Regions from separate parts of the Homo sapiens genome. Here region 2 is linked to region 1. Evidence: promoter capture Hi-C in human tissues and cell types (Jung and others, 2019). All regions are on one chromosome and are shown on one strand. The core of a region is centred on a gene start or on the middle of the fragment in contact, and the rest is flanking DNA. Distances in the headings are between cores, read along the strand shown. Region 1 holds the start of LRTM2 (leucine rich repeat transmembrane protein 2). Region 2 holds the start of LOC124902858 (a long non-coding RNA gene).

Region 1 (7,572 bases), core at 3,323-5,822:
CCCAACCGCTTGCATCCCCTGGCTTGCATCATATTGAATCCTTCTGTCAACTGCAGTCCCACAACCCAAGTTGTGCTTTTCCACTCCAGACACCCAGGGAACCGAGTCTTCTCCCCCAGGATCCCTGCTCTGCTCGTTCAGGTGAGTGGTTACTTGCGGGGAGGACTGCCCTTCCTCCCATCATCTCCTGCTAGCCAGCTGTGTGCAGGAGACAACACCTTATGATATTATGTTTGCAGACAAGCTCACACCTTTCGGTGAAGAGAAATTCAGGCAAAGGGCCCGAGGGAATGCAAAGCACTCGGCTTTTCCTGTTGCTTTCCTGGGAGTTATCAGGAAAGCTTCCCTCATGCCTGTGCATGGTGGGCCCCTGTTTTAGACCCTGACCTTCGTCCCCAGGAGGGCCTGTCATGACCTGAAAGAGGAGGACAAATCTCAGACCCCTTCCTGCCCCAGCGGGCCTCCTGCCCCAGCTGACCTGGGTCCCTTCCCTCCCTCCTGTCCTCCCTCTCTGGGCTGTCCCTTGCCTTCCCTCTCTGCCCTGCCTCTCCACATTGATCTCGTGCCTTCCTCCCAAGCAGCTTTCCTGTAAGATCGCAGCTCAGCTCCGCTGGCAGACAACCTAACAAAGAGCCTCAATAAGGCCAGACCCGCAGGCGGCTTATCAAGATGTACGTCTTTGCTGTGCACACAGACTGTCACCTCGGTGCTGCTGTGTCATCACAGAAGGCAAAACCAAACAACTGTGCATGCACACACACATACATGCACACACATGGACACACACATATATGCACACACGGACACACATGCATGCACACACACTTGCACACACATACCCATGCACGCACACATGGACACACAGGCATACGCACACACTTGCACACACATGCATATACACGTGCACCATGCACATGCACACATACGTACACACACATGCACATACATAGCATGCACATGAACATATGAGTTTGCACACTGTTGAGTGCTGTGGTCCCAGGAGTCAGAAGCTCCAGCTTTGCCCTCCTAGCCCTTTATCTGCTTCTCTTTCCTCCTCCTCTGTCTTGAGAACCTAACCAGGAGACTGCGTGTTGCACGGGATAGGGACTGTGGGGCATGAGAGGGATCATCTTTTGTAACACAAGCTGAGGACCCGACAGGTGCACAGCGAATACTTAGGTCACAGAAGGCCAGTGCCAGAAGGGAGACCAGAGATCTCAACCCATCTCCTCATTCTGCAGGGCAGGAATCCCAGCCAGCACAAGGCCCAGGGCTGCTGAGTGAACTCACTAGCTAGCTAGTCACTGAGCAACAGAGTCTGGAGTCTGGGTCCCCTGATGCCCAGTCTTGAGCTCTTTCATGTCCTCCATTCCTCACTCAGTTGACACGAAGGCACTGGGGCCTGAAGGACACGGAACAGGTGAGGCCAGTCCCCCTGCTTGAACAGCTCTGTGTAGGAAAGGAGATGACTCCCTCTCCCCTCTCCCCTCTCCCCACGGTCTCCCTCTCCCTCTCTTTCCCCGGTCTCCCTCTGATGCCGAGCCGAAGCTGGACTGTACTGCTGCCATCTCGGCTCACTGCAACCTCCCTGCCTGATTCTCCTGCCTCAGCCTGCCAAGTGCCTGCGATTGCAGGCGTGCGCCGCCACGCCTGACTGGTTTTCATATTTTTTTGGTGGAGACGGGGTTTCGCTGTGTTGGCCGGGCTGGTCTCCAGCTCCTAACCGCGAGTGATCCGCCAGCCTCGGCCTCCCGAGGTGCCGGGATTGCAGACGGAGTCTGGTTCACTCAGTGCTCAATGGTGCCCAGGCTGGAGTGCAGTGGCGTGATCTCGGCTCGCTACAACCTCCACCTCCCAGCCGCCTGCCTTGGCCTCCCAAAGTGCCGAGATTGCAGCCTCTGCCCGGCCACCACCCCGTCTGGGAAGTGAGGAGCGTCTCCGCCTGGCCGCCCATCGTCTGGGATGTGAGGAGCCTCTCTGTCTGGCTGCCCAGTCTGGGAAGTGAGGAGCGCCTCTGCCCGGCCGCCATCCCATCTAGGAAGTGAGGAGCGTCTCTGCCCGGCCGCCCATCGTCTGAGATGTGGGGAGCGCCTCTGCCCCACCGCCCCGTCTGGGATGTGAGGAGCGTCTCTTCCCGGCCGCGACCCCGTCTGGGAAGTGAGGAGCCCCTCCGCCCGGCAGCCGCCCCGTCTGAGAAGTGAGGAGCGTCTCCGCCCGGCCGCCCCTACTGGGAAGTGAGGAGCCCCTCTGCCCGGCCACCACCCAGTCTGGGAGGTGTGCCCAACAGCTCATTGAGAACGGGCCAGGATGACAATGGTGGCTTTGTGGAATAGAAAGGCGGGAAAGGTGGGGAAAAGATTGAGAAATCGGATGGTTGCCGTGTCTGTGTAGAAAGAAGTAGACATGGGAGACTTTTCATTTTGTTCTGCACTAAGAAAAATTCCTCTGTCTTGGGATCCTGTTGATCTGTGACCTTACTCCCAACCCTGTGCTCACTGAAACATGTGCTGTGTCCACTCAGGGTTAAATGGATTAAGGGCGGTGCAAGATGTGCTTTGTTAAACAGATGCTTGAAGGCAGCATGCTCGTTAAAAGTCATCACCACTCCCTAATCTCAAGTACCCAGGGACACAAACACTGCGGAAGGCCGCAGGGTCCTCTGCCTAGGAAAACCAGAGACCTTTGTTCACTTGTTTATCTGCTGACCTTCCCTCCACTATTGTCCTATGACCCTGCCAAATCCCCCTCTGCGAGAAACACCCAAGAATGATCAATAAAAAATAAATAAATAAATTAAAAAAAAAAAAAAAGAGTCATCACCACTCCCTAATCTCAAGTACCCAGGGACACAAACACTGCGGAAGGCGGCAGGGCCCTCTGCCTAGGAAAACCAGAGACCTTTGTTCACATGTTTATCTGCTGACCTTCCCTCCACTATTGTCCTATGACCCTGCCAAATCCCCCTCTCCGAGAAACACCCAAGAATGATCAATAAATACTAAAAAAATTAAAAAAAAAAAAAAAAGGAAAGGAGATGAAGCAGACCACAGAAAGCTCCTGCACAACATGAGGGTGGCCCAAAGAGAATGCCAGAGATCGGAGGAGGAGCAGGGCCAGTCCTGTGGTGTTCCGGGGAAACGTCACCTTGCAGGGGGCGTTTAAGGAAGGGGGAAGCCACCCATGGGCAGGAGAGCATTTCAGGCCCAGGGAAGAACACGCTTTCATGGAGATGGAGAAGCAGGAAGTATGTTTATGGGGAGGTGGGAGCCTCTTTTGCTTGACAGTGGGATGTGTGGGAGGCACCAGCATGAGAGGTCAGAGGCGGGACTCCCCAGAGGTAAAAGACACTGCAGCTCAAGCCTTGTGCTGCCCGGGGACCCGGCAGAACGGACAGAAGGGAGTGAGCAGGAGCATCCTTCTAGGGGCATCCTGAGTCCAGGGGGTTCTTCTACACCCACCCCAGTCCTGGCTGTGAACCCCTCCAGCAAAGCAGGCAAAATGGAAGAGGGACATAGGACACGGTGATATATCGCTAGCACGGTGCTTCATCTGTCTACAGGCAGTGGACGCAAAGGAAGGGGGATTTAGGGTTCGTGCTCCAGGCTGGTGGGGCCCTGGCTCCCCTCTAGCTTGGTCCCTGACTCACTTGGCCTTCAGATCAGCCACTTCCCATCTCTTAGGATATCAATTTTTCTGACTTGCTTTGTCCTGATTGGTTAAGAAAGAGGCCTCCAAGTTCTTGAATGACAGTCTCTTCCCTTCGCATGCCTGACCCATCACAGATAAGAGCAAGGAGCCCTGAGAAGCCAAGCTCGTCCCTGGCACTGAGAACGGTCTGCAGGCTGCTGCTGCAGGCTGCCCTGTGCCCAAACTCCCAGCCTGCCAACTCTGGCATTCTGCTTCCCTAAGTAGTCCTGGCGTCGGGTGGTCAGACCCTGAGGCTCAGTGACCTCTGCATGACCATGTGATCCCTGGCTTTGTGGGGGCTCAGGGCCCTTTCCTGTAGGGTCATCTGGCACATGGACATGCCTGTGTACCCTTCTTTCGTATGACCGAGAGAAGGGTTCGGTTTTTCCTTCTCTCAGGCAGGATGGGAGACTCTGCCTCGCATGTCTCTAAAACAGGAGAAAGACCAGCTTCCCAGGGGGGCCTCCATCGGAACAGAAGTCAGCCGCTTGCTCTGTGTCTGCGCCTGTCCCTCTTTCCCCAGATGGAGGGGAAGAGAGGAGAGAGGCACAGAAGACAGGTGCAGCCGGGGGGGTGAGGGAGAGCCTGGAGGCGCAGGATGGAAGATGGAGGTGGTGGTGAAACCGCTTTCCTCCTCCCTGTGGTCGGCAGCGATTCATCCACAGGCGCCTTTTTCCACTGAAATGTGAGCGTGGCCAGGGTGAGCGCTGCCCTCGCGGCCGGCCGTGGTGCCTCTGGTGTGCGCCTGTGTGTGCTGCTGCCGCTGTCATCACAGATGCACCCCAGCTGTCACTCCCCGCTCCACTCTGGCTCGCTGCTCGCGCACACGCGTGCGCTCTCCTCCCTCGCCCCTTTCTTCCCTCTCTCCTCTCTCTCTCTCCCTCCATCCCTCTCTTTCCTTCTCAGTTTGTGACTGACCCAGCAGCCCCGTCCCCCGTCTGCCACAAGCAGTCCACCTCCTGGTGCTGTGTGCTGCGTGCCAGCCGCTGCTCCCGCTGAGTGGAGACTCTGGCACCAGTGCCCACTGCGCTCTGCCTGCCGGTGGTGTCTGGATTTCTATAGGAATCCCAGGAGGGTCTTACTGGAGGGTTGAGAGCCACCTGATTGAAGGCGTTTGCAGTCAGAGTAAAGACGGGTGAGTACCGAGTGGCTGGTAGGAAGGAATGGAGGGTTGGTGGGGACAGGGGGTGGTCGGGGCATGGGAAGTGGGCACCGGCCATCTCTGCCCTGCAGGAATAGCTGCAGTTGCTTCCTACCTGCAGGCAATTGCTGGGGCCGAAGAAGCTGCTCGGGCTCAGGCACCTGAGCATCCCAAAGGTGCACGACACTGGGAACTCTGAGCCCACAGTGCTGGGGACAAGAGCTGTGGATTCTGCTGGGAAGTGGGGAGGAGGGCAGCGCTGGCGCCAGATGACAGTCCCGGGTGGCATAGAAACCGGTCCCTGCAGCATGGGAGAAGCAGCCAAGAGCCTTGTGCTGTCGTTGTGCCCGGCTCTGCACAGACAGCCCCAAGAAACTCGGGGGTCATGGGAAGCGGTTGGGATGGCAGTCAGGTGCTGGGGACAGGGCCAGGTCAGAGGAAGGCTTGGGGTGGAGGGTGGCAGGGAGGAGGTCCTGGATGTCAGAGGCATGGGCACAGACCCAGGTCCTGGGCCTCCCTATAGCTTGCCTGCAGGTGGCTGTCCTTGGACAAGGGTGTGGAGGAACCCTCCCCCAGATGAGCATGGGCCCACTCAGCTGTGCATGAAGCCTCCCTGGTGAGGGTGAGGCTGGGAGTGGGCAGGAGAGAGAAGTATCGCAGCCCTTCCCTGCTAGCCCAAGGGCAAGACAGGAGAACCAGGCCCGCGAGAACCTGCTGGGGTGTCCCGCAGCTGTGCACCCAGCCGTCCATCTGCAAATGGGTCAGGGAGCCTTAGTGGGGGCTGGACACTGAGCTTGGGTGGGGGGTACACAGCGGGGCCAGGCCTGCCTGGCTTCTTGACCCACACAGGGGGCATGGACACCCTGAGTAGAGCGGGACAGTTGCTCTCAATCCCCCAGACCCATTTGGACAGTGCTGGAGAGAGGAGCAGCCTGACCAGGAGTCGGAAGTTCACATTCCTGCACCTCCCTGCAGGTCTGGGGCTGGGTTCCAGTTGGCGGCCCTGTCTCTCCCCCACCCCCAAGCTGTCCACATTTCTGGGGGGTGTTGGCACCCGGCTGTCAGGGCTACTTGGGCAGTGTCTCTTTGTGACTCAGATGACACCCCTGCAGCTTAGATAACTGCCTCAGGTGGGGGCGGGGAGGGAGCCGAGCACGTGGAGCTGAGGCGGGGGAAGTCCAGCTGGTAGGGAAACCCGACAGCAGCTTCCGAGCTGCCAAGAAGAGCCCAGCTTTTCCCACCCCCACCTCCCCACCGGCAGAAAGAAAGTCTCAGCACTGCCAAAAGAGGGAGACCAGGAAAGCCAGGCCCGCGGGGAGGGGTAAGGAGAGAGGCTGCTTAAGCAGCCGATCTGGTGTCTTTGGGGTTTGACAGAAGCTTGTCTGGGCCCACGAGGAGCAAACTCTGCTCCCGTTTCCCAGGCACCAGAGCCCAGGGGCCGCCTCTGGGCTGCTATGGCCTCAGTGGGCAGTGTAGGAAGGAGGAGGGGATGGCATGTATGTGATGGTTGGGGGTGTCTGGGAGTTCTGGGGGTGGGCAGAGGAGAAAGGAGCCAGCATAGAGGCTGTCTGCCCCTCTGGTCTTCCTCCTTTTTCCCCCAGCCAAGCCTCCTGTGCCCTGCCTGGGAATACCACCCTGAGCCCAGCCCCAGGGACACCACCCTGAGCCCGGCCCCAGGGCCCAGTGGACACCTTAGCCTCCTTCATGTCAGGGACCAGCTCCCATGAGGGGCCACTCAGGAGGCTTCTCTGTTCTGCTTCCCAGAGGGTCTGTTTGAGATTGAGAATATTTGACAAGGAAACGGGGGTGCAGGAGGCTGGGGGTGAGGATGGGGCATGTGTTTTAAAATGAACCAGGAGGGTATATGGCTGTTCCAAGTACAAATATAGAGATTTTTAAAACCTGGTTCCTTGCTGCCTGGGCAGTGTGTGTGATGGGGGTGATGGGCAGCTGTCCTAGAGGGCCTGGGTGCCCAGACAGGCAGCGGTAGGCGGAGCCCAGCCTAGACGGCTGTGGCAGCCTCCCCTGCGTCCTGGCCACATGGAATCTCGGGCCGTCTTTGGCCCGGGGCTCTGGCTGGCCACTCTCCGGGCTCCCTCTCAGCCTTCCTGGGGTTGGTGGAAGGGCACGGCCCCTGCAGGCCCAGGGTGTGGGCCCAGTCGTGGCTCTGCTTCTCTCTGGCCTTCTGCAGAGTGAAGGGGGCGGCAGAGTAGGCTGCAAATGCCCCCTTTACCCCTGAGTTCTGTGACTCTTCCATGCTGAGGGGTATGGACTCTTGACCAAGGGGAGATGCCAGGGGAGTGGGCACACCCTAGGGCTAGTGTGATGGCCCAGGAGTCAGGAATTCAGAGGTGGAGGCCCGATGGGCATTATCTGGCTGTGTGTCTTGGATGCTTGATGTGGAGGGATAGACATGCGCAGAAGCCTGAGAGGAAGGGTGCGGACACCAGGTCTGTGGTGAGTGTGCTGGAGGTTTCTAGCTAGAGTCTGAGACTGATTAATTAACCTCCATCTGAGGAGAAATGGAAGGGGCAGGTGCATGGAGCGGTCCAGGCTCCTGCCGTCCCAACCTAGCTCTCTGCAGTGAGTGAGTGCGTGCGGCTGTTCCGTGCTCTGAGGGGGCCGAGTGGGGTGCTAGCAGGGAGGCAGCTCCCACTCCCAGTCTCCTGGGGTGGCTACAGCCCACTCAGCTCCGCATGTGGAACCCCCTGCTCCTACTGGGGCCTCCTGCTCCCCCATGGCCT
Region 2 (7,298 bases), core at 3,508-6,007, 65 kb after region 1:
GTCAGAAGGTCAGGCTGTCCATAGAATGCTAAGGACATCCTAGCACCGTCTGACATCAGTTGCAGCACACAGGGAACCTGGGGTTGCCTCTACCCACCTTCTGCCAAACTCACACCCAACACTCCAGGCCACCTTCAGCAGGTATGGCCTATGCCCGGCTTCTCTCATCGGATTTCATGGTTCTGAAAGCCTTCGCTTTCCAGCTCCCGTGGCATGACCACAACACTCCCAGGTGAGGGAGGCCCACACGGAGCACCGGAGCCCTGGCCCCTCCTGCTGGGCTGGCTACTGGCAGGCAGATGAATGCACGGGTGATGGAGAGGAAGTGCAGGTGCCAGGGTTCACAGGAAGACAGCTCAAAGAAGATCCCCTCCTGTCCTCCTTCTCCCCACCCACCTCTCTCTCATCAAACCTGGACACTCAGGGCCCTATGAACACTTGGACAAGGGAGGGAGAGCCCTGCCCAAAGGCAGCCAGCTCGTCTCTTCTCAGCAGCAGTCGGTGATGGTCAGATGACATCTGCTGAGCATGGCCGTGTTGGCGGAGCCCCTTTAAAGTAGATTAATGAGCTTTTCATCCCAAATTTGGCCAGATGGCTTATGTCTACTATTAACAGGTGGAGGTAAGTAAGCATGCCACTGCTTTTGGACATAGAGCAACTCAGAAGAAAGCTGACCATTGCCTCGTTGCATTCCCAGCCTCCTTTGTCAGCACAGGGACTGAGTTCTGGCCAGTGAAAGGTGAATTCTGGGTTCTGGCAAGAGTCCCTGCAAGTTTCCCTCACAGGGGCGAAGTATCCCCCTTCCCCTTCCACAGCCTGATGCTTAAGTGTGGTTTCAGTTGACTCATGTTCCACCAGCCTCCTGAGCATGAGGATGAGGGCCACATGGCTGGGACAGCAAAGGGGACAGCAGGGAGGAGCCTGGGTCCCTGATGACCAGGCCAGAGAGCTCGTGGTCAGCTCTGGGCTTTGTTTACCCAAGGGGGACATTCACTTCTATCTTATTTAAGCCACTCTTTTCAGGTCTCTCTGGAGCCCAGCCTGATACATCATCACTGAAGCAGGTGGCTGCCTATGTGATGGGGATTTGAGAAATGGCAGAAAGGTCTCCCTTCCCCAGAAAGGTCCCATGTGAAGCTCTCCCTTTGATGTTCATTCTTTCGTGCAAGTCATTGCTGCCTACAGTCCTTTGAAAATGCAGGGACCCAGGAAGGGAGAACGTGTTCCAGCTGTGGGATGGTGGATTCTTGGTCTGACCCCTTTCTGTCCCGGGTGGGTGGGAGGGAGGGATGATGAGGGAGGCGAGGACTGTGGAGGAGGAGGAAGGAACAACTTCGGAGCAGGGACCCTGTCCGTGGAGAGCACCTCAGGCAGGTCTGCTGGGGGTCTAAGGCAGCATATGAGCAGTGGTCCCATTAGTGGGCCAAGGGCTGTCAGGAAAAGAGGAGGAAAAGCATGGAAAAGCGGCTTCATTCGCCCCTTCTTAATGTTCCCTAAGGAGGTGCTAGGCCCACCCCTTTCCTGACCCAGGAAGTAACTTCTTACTCCCTGGGGTCCCTAACTCTGAGGTGGGCTTCTCGAGCTGGGAGCTGCTGCCAGGCTCACCTTGCTGTCCATGTAGGCCTCTGTCCAGATGATGTCGTGGTCGTGGTTGATGACCATGGGGCGGCTGAGCACGTGCAGGTATTCCATCACGTTCTCCTGGGTGTCCGCCAGCGTTGAGATCTGCGTGTAGTAGCCTGCGGTGGGGAAGGCCGCGTGGGTGTGGAAGGCAGGGCTTCCCTGGGAACCCCTCGCCAGGGCCTGCACCCTCCCCAGCTGCAGATGGCTCATAGCCGAATACTCTCTGGAAACTGGACCGGGGCACAGGGAGCTGCTTCCCCACAGTTGTGTCCTTTACCCAGGGGCAGCCGCAGGCCAGTGGGAGGCCAAGGCTCACTCTGCTGCACCCTGGAAGATCTCTGAGGGGCTGTCCCACCCAGAGCTCCGGAAGGAGCAGCAGGGCCTGACGCAAGAGTGTTGGGGGTCAGCCTCTCCCTCTCCCAGCCTCGCCCTCCCACTTCCTCACAGGAACATCTCATGAGAGTGCCCTGTAAGCTTTCTTCTGCCACTCTTAGGTCTCTTCAGGGAACCCAATCAGAGGCAGAGATTTCTGCCTCTCCGCTCCTCCTTCCTCTGGTCCTTGTTCTTGCTCAGGTTGTGGGGTGGGTGTTACAGCCTATTCCCTGGAACCATGGTGACACTCCAAAGCGCAGATGGCGCAGAAGGCTGTGAATGGCCTCTCCACGCCCCCACCTCCCACCGTGTTCATCCCCCTCGCCAGTGAGATGCAGCACCTCTCTGCTCCCAGCAGGTCTCAGACCCTTTCAGCACACTGTTCCCTCTGTCTGGAACACCCTTCCAGTCGCCCCACTGACTTGGAGAGTGCCTCCCCCATGGCCCCCGGCACCCTGAACAGTCTGTGTCTCTCCACCATCAAAGCACATTTCAGGCTGCATCGTGGGTGGTGTTTTACTTGTATGTCTCCCTGCTGGACAATACTGAGAGGTAGACCGACCCTGAGTCCATCCTGATCCCTCTTGGTCCCCTGGTGCCTGGAAATGGGGCCAGGTGCATAGTGGATGCTCAGTGAATTTTTGTTGAATCAATGGGGTCTGGTCAGAGATAGATGAGGACCATTCACACACAAAACATTATTCCAGAGAAAACAGTGACCCTCTGCTTTTTGTCTGGGAGCAGAACCAGAGTCCATGGCTTACTTTGCTGAAAGAAAGAATGGGGGCAGGATGGAGACAGAGCTGACATTGTCTCACCTTGCTTTTTCCAAATATGAAGGAGGGACTGAGGCTGCTGTTCTTGACATAGCACTGCTCCTCTTAGGGGCCCATGGGGAAGCCCGTGCTCAGCACTTCCAGGGCTGGGTAACCCTGTCTCCTGTGCTCAGGTGCAGGTGGGAAGGTACCTGCTGGCCCGGCACTCACCTTTGTTGTTGCATGCAATCCACTTCATGCGGTCAGCAAAAGACACTTCTCTCCCAATGAGGTAAGTGAAAACTCGGACCTAACCCACAAGACACAGAGGCACTCAGCAGCAAAATTCCCGGCCATAAGTAATGTTAACATTGTTTATATGAGTCTTAGATGTTGGCCCCAGTGCCTCTCAGTCTTCGGGTTCTCCAATTTCACCCCCTGAGGCCCAGGCAGCAACACAATTCGCCCAGGGCCATGGGGACTGCGGGTAGGTGCAAGGCTGAGATTTACAGCCTGGCAGTTCTGATGTCCCCAAACCATATTCTGGTCCCTTACCCCAAACTTCCTACATCAGGCCTCTGTGTCTCGGGTAGCCATAATTTTGGAACACTCAATTAAAATGCATCTGAAAGCAAGAATGGCTCTAATAGGAAAGCAGATTTGAATGGGGGCCATCCTTCTAGGGTCCCTGCTGGTGATCCCATCCATGGCAGCAGGAGAAGCTTTTTTCTCCCTGGACACCCGTGGGAGGGTCACCTTACAGTCTGGCCAGTTATACTTCTCAAACACCGGCTCGTAGTCCTCCACGGCGCCGTCGCTGATGAGCATGATGGCCTGGTTGCAGAGGCTTCCTTGCTTGGCCTCTTGGAACTGTGTAGGGAAGAGGAGTGCCCATGACCACAGGCCAAGCCCACCCCCCTCCACCTGCCGCCTTCCTCCCAGTCCTCCCCTCCCAGGCCTCATTACAGTGGGCACCTGCTTCAGGATCTGGAAGGCTTCTCTCAGGGCTTGGTCCACGACCCCCACACCTTTGACCATCAACTCCTCCACCAGCAGTTTGAAATGCTGCCATGGGTGAGATATTAGAGAAGCATCAGGGGGTTGAGTGGGCCAGTGGAGCTTCATGTTTGGTGTTAATTTGGGAGGCTGTTTAGGGCCATCCAGAAGGACATGATTTCAGGGCCTGTGTCTCCATGATGCAGTTCATGGACTGGTCCTCTACAATAGGTGTTTCTCAAATGTCCCCAAGATAAACTGAGAGAGGGGAAATGACTTGGTACACATCCATGGCCACTATTGATGGGAAACGCCAAGTGTGAAGCTGAGTACAGGGGGAGGACAGTTCTGGGATGGAGGCAGGGTAACCTCGGCTCCCAGACCACAGCCCGCAGCCCGCAGCCCAGGGGTGCACACTTCACAGCAGAAAGTGTGGAGGTGCCCAGGGCAGAGGCCCGGCTTCAAGAGGAACTCAAACCCCAACTCCTCCATCACAGAGGGAGGAATCTATGATGTGCAAAAGCTCTCTTTAAAAAATTATTGCCATGTCCTCTCCTCCTTGGTCTTTTACCAGAGGAAAGGATGACACTCAATGAAGTTTAAATTTGTCCTCCTTTCGGGGAAGCTTCTCATGAAAACTGACATAATGGAAAGGTCCAGGTGGGAGGCAAAAGGGGAAATTGAGTCCTATATAATCCACAGGGTGAAAAACCAGTCCTGAATAAGGAAGGTTCCCTTTGCTATGAGGTCTCTATCTGCTCACTGTTTGCTCTGATAAGCAGCAGTGTGTTTACAGGGCGGTTCCCTGGGTTGTTTGCATGGGTAACGTGCTCTGCTCTCATTCCAGGTGCCATGGGAATAAGCAAAAAGGGCCACAGAAACAGTCTACAGAGACAACCGCCCACCATCCAGACAAGAGCAGGGGCTTGGAAGTCTCAGGCCACCGTGGACACTCACCTCTCGATTGTCTCGGTCCGCCTGGACGAGGATCCCTTTAAAACAAGGCTCGATGTAATGGACGTAGTCATTGTACTGCAGTTGCAGTGAGTTGAGGGGAGGTGGGGGGAGAATAAACAGCATCAGGTTGCAAAGTCCAGGCCCAGCAAAGACACTCATGCAGGTCACCGGGTGGTCAGGGGTTGTGGGTCACCTTGGTACCTGTGTATGATTTCTAGAGCAAGTGAGAGCTATTCTAGAACAGGAAGGCACATTTACCGCTATGATATTAATGAAGTCATTCTCCCCCAGGGTGTCCAAGATGGTGGTGATGGTGTGCTTGGCAATAGTCATCCTCAGCCCCTTCATACTGCCGCTCACGTCCACCAAAATCACTATGTCCTTGGGAGAAGTAGCAGCTTGAATGTACCTGAAGGAAGAAAGGGACATGCCCAAGATGGGAAAACCAAAGCCGGAACCAATACCTGACCAAGGGGTCTGCAGTTATTTCTGTTCAGATGCTGGCTCGAGCCCACCCAAAGTTCAGGGCAACCCATCTATGCCAGGTTTCACATGTTCCATAACCACTTGACACAGTGCTGAAGCCATCTGGGGTGGCAGTGGTTGGGGATGTGCCACCTAACAGGCCAGGTCAAGCCCTGGAGGTAACGCTTGTTCCTTTTGATTTAGACCAACCGGGGTCCCTGAGGGGCTGGCAGCAGAAAGGGAGAGAGCTGGGCTTCAGATTCTGTTACCAACTTGCCACAAAAGGGGTGTGGAAGGAGAGGAGAGCCTAACAAAAGGTTGACGTGGAGACAGCTCAGTGTCCTGGCAGGAGGTTTAGGTTGGGAAAGACAAACATGATCAGTCCTGGAGCAAGGCAATTGTAGAGGGAAGGGAGGAATGCTGGCCCTCTTCCTGCTCTTGTGTCGGGCTAGGGTTCTACACACCCAAGGCCCTTGAGTGGCGGTGGGGGAAGGGGCGGAAGTGGAGGAGGATGAGGCAAAACCCAAAAGCTATGAGATAAATACCCGGGCCGCAAACCTTTCCCCTGTGAGCTCTTACCAGCCGCGGTTTCGGCAGTCAAAAGTAATGACTCCATTCTCATCAGGTGTCCATTTTATACCTGGGAGAATAAAGACTCGTTCTTTTACTAGCTTGGTGAGGCCACCCCAGATCCCCTGGCTGGGTGTGGACCCCCAAGATGGCCATGATCCCCAGGGCAGAACAGCTTTGGAGCTAGGGAACAGGGTGGGGAACACTGGGACATGCCCTGTAGACTGAGACAAGCTGGCAAGGAGACATCTACCAGCCAAACTGCCCAGATGCAGAGCTGGGGGTAATTTCACAGGTAGGACCACATAGGTGGTGCCTGGGACTCATTTGTGAGGCAAAACCTCATATCAAATAGTGGAGGGGGAAGCTTTGGAGAAGTGTGACTTTTAACATCCATTACCATCCAGCAAAGTGTGGACAAAATGTTGAAAAAGGCAAGTGCTCTGACTTCTAACACACTTGCCTCTAGGTGTTAAGCTCATTAGCACTCAGGATCCTTCCTGTTGGCTGGGATGGGAGAAATGATTTGGCTCTATGACTGTAGGCTCTTTGAGGTCAGGGATTCCTAGAACCCAGCAGAGTATATGCTTAATAAATGTCTGTTACTTGAATGAAAGGACAAATGAATGGATATGAAAGATCTTGCGTTGACCCAGTAGCAGAATGCTGGTGTAGATTTTTATCCTATCCACCTAATAAAAAAATTTGTATAGATGCACAGAAAACACTGACATGATCCACAATAGAATCTCGATTTGAAAAGACTTTATGATTGGGAATAGTGGGTTTAAAAGAAGAAGAGTAAAAATAACAGGTGGAATTGCAATATGTTGTGATTGGGATAGACAAAATGATTGTAGCAGTATTATGAATGTCTAGAAGCTCCAAGGGCCCTTCCTCCTCCACAGTGGTTAGACTTCAGATGACATACACCCTTTGAGGCATTGCTGGCATCTCAAAGGTAGGAGAGGTTGTCAGAGACCATGATCTCAAAACCAAACAAATGAGAACAGAGCCCCAGGCGTGAGGCATATGTGTGAGGTCAGCTAGCACCCAAAGCCTTGAAGGTGGGAAGCAGAGCCATGGGAGTGTGGTGTGATGGGAGCTTGAGTACCACTGGTCTGACCTAGTCTTGCAGGCAGTCATGGGAGGTAGGGCTTTCCTGAGGCCACATTCTTACAGCAACATGGTCATGGGGAATTTGATCCTTAGAACAGCAATGAGGAGGAGAAGCTGAGTCTGAGATTACTGGCTCTTAACCAAAATCTTCGAAGAGGACTTTGGAGGTCCTGGATGAGGGTACCCTCAAGTCCAAGCGGAAACAGAAGCGAATTTTCTTGTGGATTCCCAACTCAGACCCACTGGACTCTGAAGAGGACAAGCAGCATGGCCTCACAAGCAAAGATTCCCAAATACATAAGGAGCAGACCCCTATTAGTGGGAGGCAGCAGACTCAAGAGCTACCTCAAGAGCTGGATATAGCTTCTCAAGAATTACAGATGTTGGAATGGCCAAATACCAAACACAAACTAGGTAGGTATGAGAAGAACACATAATAC

Evidence for each region. Contacts are between HindIII fragments. The study calls those that stand out against the background at their distance.
Region 2: a contact is called between a fragment that was not itself captured here and the fragment with the promoter of LRTM2 in region 1, in 7 of the 25 tissues and cell types used here (IMR-90 fibroblasts, bladder, dorsolateral prefrontal cortex and 4 more).

The regions. Positions count from the first base shown.
Region 1 is chr12:1,815,993-1,823,564 of GRCh38, forward strand. It overlaps LRTM2 (leucine rich repeat transmembrane protein 2), which reads left to right and starts at 4,573. Exons shown (of 5, transcript NM_001039029.3): 1 at 4,573-4,822. All of the region lies in intron 26 of CACNA2D4 (calcium voltage-gated channel auxiliary subunit alpha2delta 4), which reads right to left. LOC105369601 (a long non-coding RNA gene) reads left to right here. Exons shown (of 5, transcript XR_931546.3): 4 at 90-141; 5 at 1,242-2,814. RefSeq lists an enhancer at 4,143-4,889. The HindIII fragment of the contact is 8,239 bases long and covers 1-7,460 here.
Region 2 is chr12:1,881,261-1,888,558 of GRCh38, forward strand. CACNA2D4 (calcium voltage-gated channel auxiliary subunit alpha2delta 4) reads right to left here. Exons shown (of 38, transcript NM_172364.5): 7 at 5,749-5,809; 8 at 4,963-5,113; 9 at 4,705-4,779; 10 at 3,727-3,816; 11 at 3,508-3,621; 12 at 2,983-3,061; 13 at 1,607-1,740. LOC124902858 (a long non-coding RNA gene) reads left to right here and starts at 2,946. Exons shown (of 3, transcript XR_007063158.1): 1 at 2,946-3,043; 2 at 4,595-4,790; 3 at 4,996-7,298. The HindIII fragment of the contact is 3,944 bases long and covers 2,786-6,729 here.